Regions from separate parts of the Homo sapiens genome. Here region 1 is linked to region 2. The links are contacts of gene promoters, found by promoter capture Hi-C in human tissues and cell types (Jung and others, 2019). All regions are on one chromosome and are shown on one strand. The core of a region is centred on a gene start or on the middle of the fragment in contact, and the rest is flanking DNA. Distances in the headings are between cores, read along the strand shown. Region 1 holds the start of ADAMTSL5 (ADAMTS like 5). Region 2 holds the start of ONECUT3 (one cut homeobox 3).

Evidence for each region. Contacts are between HindIII fragments. The study calls those that stand out against the background at their distance.
Region 1: the fragment with the promoter of ADAMTSL5 here is called in contact with the fragment with the promoter of ONECUT3 in region 2 in 2 of the 25 tissues and cell types used here (heart right ventricle and lymphoblastoid cells).

What each region holds. Positions count from the first base shown.
Region 1 is chr19:1,510,118-1,514,454 of GRCh38, forward strand. ADAMTSL5 (ADAMTS like 5) reads right to left here and starts at 2,902. Exons shown (of 12, transcript NM_213604.3): 1 at 2,846-2,902; 2 at 728-1,043; 3 at 522-613; 4 at 251-311; 5 at 33-141. The coding sequence starts at 826. RefSeq lists silencers at 2,727-3,096, 3,936-4,015. The HindIII fragment of the contact is 17,964 bases long and covers 1-4,337 here.
Region 2 is chr19:1,752,078-1,756,641 of GRCh38, forward strand. ONECUT3 (one cut homeobox 3) reads left to right here and starts at 1,429. Exons shown (of 2, transcript NM_001080488.2): 1 at 1,429-2,777. The coding sequence starts at 1,586. The HindIII fragment of the contact is 24,245 bases long and covers 1-4,564 here.

The DNA.
Region 1 (4,337 bases), core at 1,652-4,151, 240 kb before region 2:
CAATTCTGACCACAGGAGACCAGACTACTCACCCCCATGGAAGGGCACCCACTGGTAGGTCTTCTGGGTGCCCAGGACAGGGCGGCCATTGTACAGGGCACACTGTAGGTCTCGGAAGGGCACAGCCCCTGGGGGGCAGTCCTAGGGACAGAGATAGGTGAGCCAGAGGCTGGGACAACCCCAAGGGGCAGGTGGTGGGCTTCAGGCAGTCTGGGGTGGGAGAGTGGTCTGGGAGGTGGGCAGGGCTTACTGGCAACTGGCAGAGGCGGTACTCATGGGAGTCTCCCCAGCACGGTTCTTCCCCAGGAAGCCTGAAGGGAGACAGAGTGTGGCGAGAACCCCCAGGGACCCCCTCCCAGGGCTGGCCTTCCACCCTCCGCCCCCGCCAACCCCACCCGCATTCCAGCGGGATCAGGGGGATTAAAGGGCACAGCATGTGTGGGCAGGCCGAGGGTGCGGCCAGGGGCCGGGCTGGGCCGGCGGGGGAGGAGGGGCAGGGACCCCCTCCGGGCCCCGCTCACCGGAGGCAGCGCCGGCTGCGCACAGAGACGCCACGCCCGCAGGAGCTGGAGCAGCGGGTCCAGGACACCCACGGGGTCCACTCGCCCGGACCCTACTTGGGGAGACAGAGGCACGGTCAGCCTTGTAGGGGGACGCTGGTGACCCCACACTGCTGACTGGGTCCCCATTCCCACTCGCCACCCCCTGGGCTCATGCCCCCCCTTACCTGAGCACTGACCCCCAAACCACAGTTCAGCAGGGCCCACAGGAAGAGCAGGAGGTTCTGGAAGAGGTGGGGCCTGGGGAACAGAGGGGCCGAGTCCATAGAGCCACCGCCAGAGACACAGGGTTGTGTCCCGGCTCTGCCCTGACTGGCTGTGTGATCTTGGAAAGTAACTAAACCTCTCTGAGCCCTACCTCTCGTCTCTGAAAAACGGGGTAATAGAGCCTCCCTTACAGGAAAGTTGAGGGGTCCTGTGGATCAGGTAAAGAAGACAGGAGACGTGGAGCCCGGTATGGAGAGGAAGAACTCAGAATGTCATCTGCAATTATTATTGTTGTTAGTTAGTTTGTTTTTGAGACGGAGTCTCGCTCTGTCGCCCAGGCTGGAGTGCAGGGGTGCGATCTCGGCTCACTGCAACCCTCCCCGGTTCAAGTAATTCTCCTGCCTCAGCATCCCGAGAAGCTAGGATTACAGGTGCCTGCCACCACGCCGGACTAATTTTTGCCGTTTTAGTGGAGACAGGGTTTCACCATCTTGGCCAGGTTGGTCTCAACCTTCTGACCTGAAGTGATCCACCTGCTTTGGCCTCCCAAAGTGCTAGGATTATAGGCATGAGCCACTGCACCCAGCCTACAATATTATTGATATGTGTATTGTGCTATAATGCAGACAGTAGGTGCTTAATCGATGCTTGATGATTGGAGGGATCATTCAAAAATAGTACACAGGTGCCTCCTAGGGCTGGGGCCCCCTCCCCGCCCTCCCCACCATCACTGCTTCTACCTTTCCGTGTGGCCTGAGGCCAGCCACTCCACTCTCCCAGGCCTCAGTTTCCCCATCTGTGCAGTGGGGGCCAAGTGGACTCAGTCCATGATTCTGTGACACCCTGCGGAAGGTGCGGCCGGCAGGGGCTGGATCAGGAGTTGGGTCCCTAGAAGAGGCCCTCAGCTGCACCCCGGCCCCAGGGCTCCCTCAGCTCCCAGACAGCAGGGAGTCCCCCGGATTGGGGATGGGACAGGGAGGGGGTGACCTGGCCCAGGTCCGTTCGGTGCCTCATGGCCTCATCGGCGGAGGGGGTGGGACTGAGCTCCGGGGCAGCCCGTGGAGGGAAGGGGCCACTGCTGAGGCTGGAGCAGGGAAGGGGAGGAGGCTGACTGCCTCTCTGGGCCTTAGTTTCTCCATCCTGTCAGGGCAGGGATGAAGTCACTTGCCATCCACACCCTCCTCATGACCCCAGCCTGCAGGGGGAAAGAGGGGGGAAGGGAAGCAGCCGCCAAGTGAGCCAGGGCGTCCTGCTGCCAGCAGAGCCTGAAGGCAGGTGGGTGAGCCCCGGCCCGGGCACCAGCTGGGGAAGAGGCTGGGTCCCACCTGGACCCTGTTTCCCTGGCTCCAGCATTTGGACTTCTGAGGCACCAAGGGTCTAGGGTCCTGGGTATCTCTAGGTACTGAGACAGCTGTGTGGTCTGCTGCATCCGTGCCCCTCTCTGAGCCTAGAGCCTGGGCTGGCCCAGGAAGCAGGAAGAAGTCTGCACCAGAAACTTAAAACAAGGGGAGGGGGGCCAGGTGCGGTGGCTCACGCCTGTAATCCCAGCACTTTGGGAGGCCAAGACAGGCGGATCACCTGAGGTCAGAAGTTTGGGACCAGCCTGACCAACATGGTAAAACCCCATCTGTACTAAAACACAAAAATTAGCCCGGTGTGGTGGTGCACACCTGTAATCCCAGCTACTTGGGAGGCTAAGGCAGGAGAATCGCTTGAACCCAGGAGGCGGAGGTTGCAGTGAGCCGAGATGGGGCCAATGCACTCCAGCCTGGGCGACATAGTGAGACTCAGTCTCAAAAACAACCAACCAACCAAAAAAAACAGGGGGAGGGGGCTTGACCTTCTGACCACCCCCACCGGACTCTAAGCCTGGTTTGAGGAGTGGGGGTCTAGGTGGTGAAAAGTGGGGGGCTACAAGGACCACCCTACCCCCTCCTCAATGGGCCCTGCCCAGAATCAAGGCTCTCCCCTCCCCGTGTGGGCTGCAGCCCGGACTGGCGGAGGGATCTCAAGGCAAGCCGCACCTCTGGGCCTCAGTTTCCCCCGGAGAAAGTGGGAGGATAGGCAGATGGACTTACCGGCTGCGCGGAGCCCAGGCAGCGCGTCCCGGCTCCCTGAGCGGCCCCAGGGCGAGCGGAAGCGGCGGGGCCCAAGGTGCTGGGCGGGGTGGGGAGCCTGGGACGGTCCCTCCCACCGCGGCCTCCGCAGGCGCGCCCAGGCCCGGGTCAGGAGGGGCGGCGGCCCCGGGCGCCCTCGCGCGGCGGGCGCGGATCTGCGGCAGGGGACTGCCCGGCGGACGCGAGCGCAGGGGTCCCGGAGCCGCAGGCTGGTGTCGGGCGCCCGGGTCCGGGTGACCTTGGCAGGCTCGGGCGGGGGCGCGGCGCGGGGACTGACCGCCCTCCTCTGCCCCGGGGCTGCTATTCCGGGCGCCGCGCTCAGGGCCCGGGAATGTGCGCGAACCGAGGTCACCCCGCCCTGGGTCTGGGAGTCCCGGGCGCTGCCCCTACCCCGCCGACGCCCGGATTGCGTCCCACCGGCGTCCCCATCCCCGGTCACAGCCCCCTCCCCTGGTCCTGCCCCTCACCCCTCTCGCGGGGGGTCGACCTGCTCGTGGATGGGGACCCTGGCGCGCCTGGGCTCCCATCCGGGGGTTCCCCGACCCAGGTCCCGGTCACCCCCAGCGCAGGGCCCCAGCGCACTGGGGAGAGGCTCGGCCCCGTGGGCCGCGCGCGGGGGGCGGAGAGACCCTCCCAGCTGGCGCATTCCCGGGCGCTGCTGTCACCAGGGGACGCGCCCCACCCCGCCTCCCGCCCTCCCTGCCGGGCCCCGGGGCTGCCAGCGGGGCTTCAGAGCCAGACCCGGGTCCAGGCGGTCCCTCTCCCTCACAGCCGCGGCCACACCCTCTCCGGCCTCAGTTTCCCCATCCCAGCAGTGGGCCCGGCAGGGATCTCCACCGCGAACCTTCCATCTGGAATCCGGCTCTGCGCGGACCGGCAACGCGAGGGGGCACCCCGGGACTCCCCCCACCCCACCCTTTCCCGCCGGGCGTCTGTGAGCCGCCCCGTGCCCACCCACGCAGGGATGAGACCAGGCCCTGGGTTCTGGGCTCCACCAGTTTCTGGTGTCGCCCCACGGCGCCCCCTGGCGGGCGGGCTGAGGGACTGGGGCACTAAAGGAGGGGGTGGAGGGACTGTCCTGCTCCCTGGGCTCCACCCAGGCTCGGTCTGAGCACCCCCTCCTCCAGGAAGCCCACCCTGCTGTCCCACAGCGCTGACCACAGGGAGAGAGGTTTGCTGGGGACATACAGGGTGTTGCTGGTCCAACTCAGTCTGCCCTCCAGCCTGTAGCATGTCAGCAGAGCCACCCATATGCCATTTATTGAGCACCTACTGTGTGCACAGCTGTGAACAACCCAGCCAGTCCCAGGCCAGCGGGTAAGGCAGCCCCCTGGAATGTATGACCCCCCACCTTCTGACCTGGACTATTGGAGAAAATAGCCCAGGCCCACCACTGATGGCCCCAGGTTGGGGGGTGGTGGTTGCGGGGATGTCAAGAAGGCCCTCACTGAAG
Region 2 (4,564 bases), core at 179-2,678:
GGGGAAACTGAGGCACAGAAAGGGCCCTATTCCAGAGCCAACCTAGTCTTGGTTCAGAAAATCGCATCTCCAATGTGTAGCCACGTCTACAGGGGCCAGGAAATCTGGATGCAGGTGCAAAGCTGGGGCCGGGGTTTGCCCAGAAGGTTTGCACCAAAGGGGAAGTGACAGCCTGACTGTGTCCTCCCCTCTTCCTTCAGCTTTGAGCCCTGATGCAACCCTCTGAGATGGGGGTAACTGGGGGCTCCCGCGAACCGACTGCCTGACCCATCCCCTTCCTCTTCTAGAAAGTGCACAAGCGTTACCCCGGGGGTGGGGGGGGCAGAGGCAACGGGGAAGCAGGAAGGGGCTGAGGCTGGTTTTGGACTCTGCACCGTAGCCTCTGGCCTACAAGACAGAGCATCCTCTAGATTCTGGTCTGGCCCCTCCAGATCCGCAGCCCTGACCTTACCCCACTGGCGGGATCTAGTCCCCTGGGGGTCTCTCTGATTATAGGAGCCCTTCCCCCATCTATCCCAGTTCCCAGGGGCCCCTGGGGCTCACCTGTCTCCAGGTGCTGAGAAAAAGGAGACCCCTGCCTCCCCCCACATTGAAGAGAAGCCCCAGGGACAAAGAGGAGTTTGCACCAGCGACGTCTCAGAAGACAGGGGATCCAGCCTCAGCCTCCGTGGGCTGGAGGGTGACAGGGGCTCTTAGTGGTCACCCCCAGGCTCCAGTGCCTCCAGCGGCCGCACTGTAAAAAGGCCCTGCAATTAGAAGGGGCCTTTGGCAACCCCGAGGCCGGGCAGCCCATTGTACAGTTGGGGAAACGGAGGCCCAGGTGCCCACACATGGGCAGAGGCTGACCCCTGGGGCGCACGGAGGCCCTGACCTAGCCTTAGGACCTCCCTTTTCCCCCACTTCCTCCACAAAGAGGTTGTGGGAAGGGGGCTGTGACTCCGTAGGTGTGAGTGGGAGTCGGGGGAAGCTGAGCTTGCAGTGGGGATCTAGCTCCTGGGGGTCTGTAGGGAACGGGGGGGGGGGGGGACACGTACATTACAGGCGACCGTCCAGCCACACTCCCAGAAACTCCCTGGAGATGGACTTGGGGGTGCCAGGCAGAAAGCCACATCTGGGACTCTGGAGAGAATCACACAGAGACGCGAAATCGGAGACTCTGGGTCGAGGCCCCCAGCCCCACCTGGGCAGAGTCTGTCCTCGGACCCCCGCCCGCTGTCCCCCGGGTACGGCCTGCCCCAGCGGGCGCGGGCGGGCGCAGTGGCCAGGGACGCCGAAGCCCCAAGTCTGGCCGACTTCGGCCTGCTTGGTGCTCGAGTGGGGCCGGGGCGGGCGGAGAGCGAGGCTGCGGGAGGCAGCGGTGGCAGGAGCGGGTGGGCGGGGGCGCTGACGTCAGACCCGGGCCCGGGCGCCGGCGGCCGCTCCCCTGCCACATCCTGGTGGCCGCGCTCGCAGCCGGGCCGGGCCGTGCGCCGCGCAGCCTGGCAGCCTCGCGCGCAGCCACCGGGGAGCGGGCGGGAGTCATGCAGCGGCCTTGAGCACTAGGGGCCGGCGCTGAGGAGCGCGCGCGGCGGGAGGGCAGCCGAGCATGGAGCTGAGCCTGGAGAGCCTGGGGGGCCTGCACAGCGTGGCCCACGCGCAGGCGGGCGAGCTGCTGAGCCCGGGCCACGCGCGCTCGGCGGCGGCGCAGCACCGCGGCCTGGTGGCGCCCGGGCGCCCGGGCCTGGTGGCCGGCATGGCGAGCCTGCTGGACGGCGGCGGCGGCGGCGGCGGTGGGGGCGCCGGGGGCGCGGGCGGCGCGGGCAGCGCGGGCGGCGGCGCGGACTTCCGCGGGGAACTGGCGGGCCCGCTGCACCCGGCAATGGGCATGGCCTGCGAGGCGCCGGGCCTGGGCGGCACCTACACGACGCTCACGCCCCTGCAGCACCTGCCGCCGCTCGCGGCCGTGGCCGACAAGTTCCACCAGCACGCGGCGGCCGCGGCCGTGGCCGGGGCGCACGGCGGCCATCCCCACGCGCACCCGCACCCGGCGGCCGCGCCGCCCCCGCCACCCCCGCCGCAGCGTCTGGCGGCCAGCGTGAGCGGCAGCTTCACCCTCATGCGCGACGAGCGGGCGGCGCTCGCCTCCGTGGGCCACCTCTACGGACCCTACGGCAAGGAGCTGCCCGCCATGGGGTCGCCGCTGTCGCCGCTGCCCAACGCGCTGCCGCCCGCGCTGCACGGCGCCCCGCAGCCCCCGCCGCCGCCACCACCCCCGCCGCTGGCCGCCTACGGCCCGCCAGGCCACCTGGCTGGGGACAAGCTGCTGCCGCCCGCCGCCTTCGAGCCGCACGCCGCGCTGCTGGGACGCGCGGAGGACGCACTGGCCCGCGGGCTGCCCGGAGGCGGCGGCGGCACAGGCAGCGGCGGAGCGGGCAGCGGGAGCGCCGCGGGGCTGCTGGCGCCGCTGGGCGGGCTGGCGGCGGCCGGGGCGCACGGGCCGCACGGGGGAGGCGGCGGCCCCGGCGGGAGCGGCGGCGGCCCCAGCGCGGGCGCAGCGGCCGAGGAGATCAACACCAAGGAGGTGGCGCAGCGCATCACGGCGGAGCTGAAGCGCTACAGCATCCCGCAGGCAATCTTCGCGCAGCGGATCCTGTGTCGCTCTCAGGGCACGCTCTCCGACCTGCTGCGCAACCCCAAGCCGTGGAGCAAGCTCAAATCCGGCCGCGAGACCTTCCGCAGGATGTGGAAGTGGCTGCAGGAGCCAGAGTTCCAGCGCATGTCGGCGCTGCGCTTGGCAGGTAGGAGCGTGGCGCGCAGGGCCAGACCCTGGGGGCGCCGGCTCTGGACTCCCGAGCACCTAGCGGGGCGGCGGCCGATGCCCGGGGCCAGCGCCCCAAGCCCCGCCCGTGCGCCCCGGCAGCCCGGGACCCCCTATCAGGAAGCTAGACCGCGATCCGCGCCGCTGCCCGTTTGTACCGTTGCCAAAAGGGAGAAAGGGATTGTGCCGCCTCCCCGCCCCCCGGTCGCCGCTTCTGCCCCTTTCGGGAGCGCGTAGGGGTTCTCTAGTCCTTGTTAGACTGCTGGGAGGCTCCGAGCCTCTCCCCAAGCAGCCCTCAGGGAAGCTCATTGTGTGTGTGCGTGTGTGTGTGTGAGCGCGCGCCTGTTGGGGGGAGCTGTGTCCCCGAACGAGCTGCTGTTGTCGGCTAAGGTGCCACTCCCCTCCTCCAGAGTGGGTGGAGAGGGGCTGTTGAGCCCCCAGCCCCGGGCCACAGAGCTCCGAGACGTTGCGGCGGGCGCCTGCAGCTCAGCAGCAGAGGCCGAGCCCGCGCTCATCCCCCCACCTGCCCCAGCGCGCGCTTCTTTGTAGTTCGGCCCCGCGATCGATACCCCCTCCCTCTCCCCTCCGGCCGCTGGCAAAGGTCACCCGAGAATGGCGGGGGAGGGGCGGCCCCGGGGACCCTCGGCCCGCGCCGCCCGGAGGCCTTCACACCCCGACCCGGCGCCCGCCCCGCGCAGTTTGGTCGTGGCTCGGGTGCGCGCGCCCCTGCCCGCCTGGCTTTGGGGTTTTGTGTCTCTCATGTCCACTTCTCTCCTCTCTCGGTCGGAACACACTGGTATCTCTATGTTTTTCTCTTGCTCTCCGTTTTGCTCTTGTTCCTGCTCATTATCTCTTCTCCCTGTCGGTCTCTCCGCCTCTGTCTCTGTCTCATACTCAGCCACCGGCCCCCTGGGGACCCTCCTCCCTCCTCCCTCCCAGCTGACAACAGCTAAGTCCACACCTGCCCTCTGACAGGCAGCCCGGCCAGGCCCCCATTTCCTAGGTGGGGGTGTAAGGGTGCAGGAGGGCCCCTGGCCTAGGTGGGGGTTTCTTTCCCTGGTGGTGCTGGGGAGGGGGCTGTCCACCCGGGCCACAGGGACAATAGCCGCGGCGGCTGGCGCCTGATCGATCGCTTCTCCGAGCACAAGGGCGAGAAAGGCGGGGGCTCTGGGAGGCGCCCCACTAGCAAAGAGGCAGAGGGGCTTGCGGCTGTGCCCCCAGGCAGCCCGTCCAGGCAGGGGGGCTGGGCGAAGAGAGGACAGCGGGGTGTCCTGTGCTGTTCCTCCCTAGAAAGCCATTCCCTCCCTCCACCCCAGGAGGACCAGACAACCCCCTGGGAGCCTGGACCCACAGGCCGGCCTCAGTTTCCCCCTTCTGCAGAGCAAGCAAGGTGACTAGCTGGAACCTCTTATGGGATTCTTAGATTTTTCTGCTTTGGGGCACGGGAAAATAAATAGTCTTTCGCGTGTGGCAGGGTAACCTTGTGCTCAGGGAGGTCCGGGAACCTGGACGATTTCAGTCTGTCCTGCTCCCCTCCCCATGACACATACAGCGGCACTCGTGCGCTCACCATAGACCGGCGGTCATATCCGCACACAGCCACGGCCCTCGAGGTGCAGTGCGAGGCCTCAGGTGGCAGAGGGCACACCCCTGGCAGCTCTATTTATTTATTGAGACGGAGTTTCACTCTTGTCGCCCAGGCTGTAGTGTAGTGGTGCGATCTCGGCTCACTGCAGCCTCTGCCTCCCAGGTTCAAGCGATTCTTCC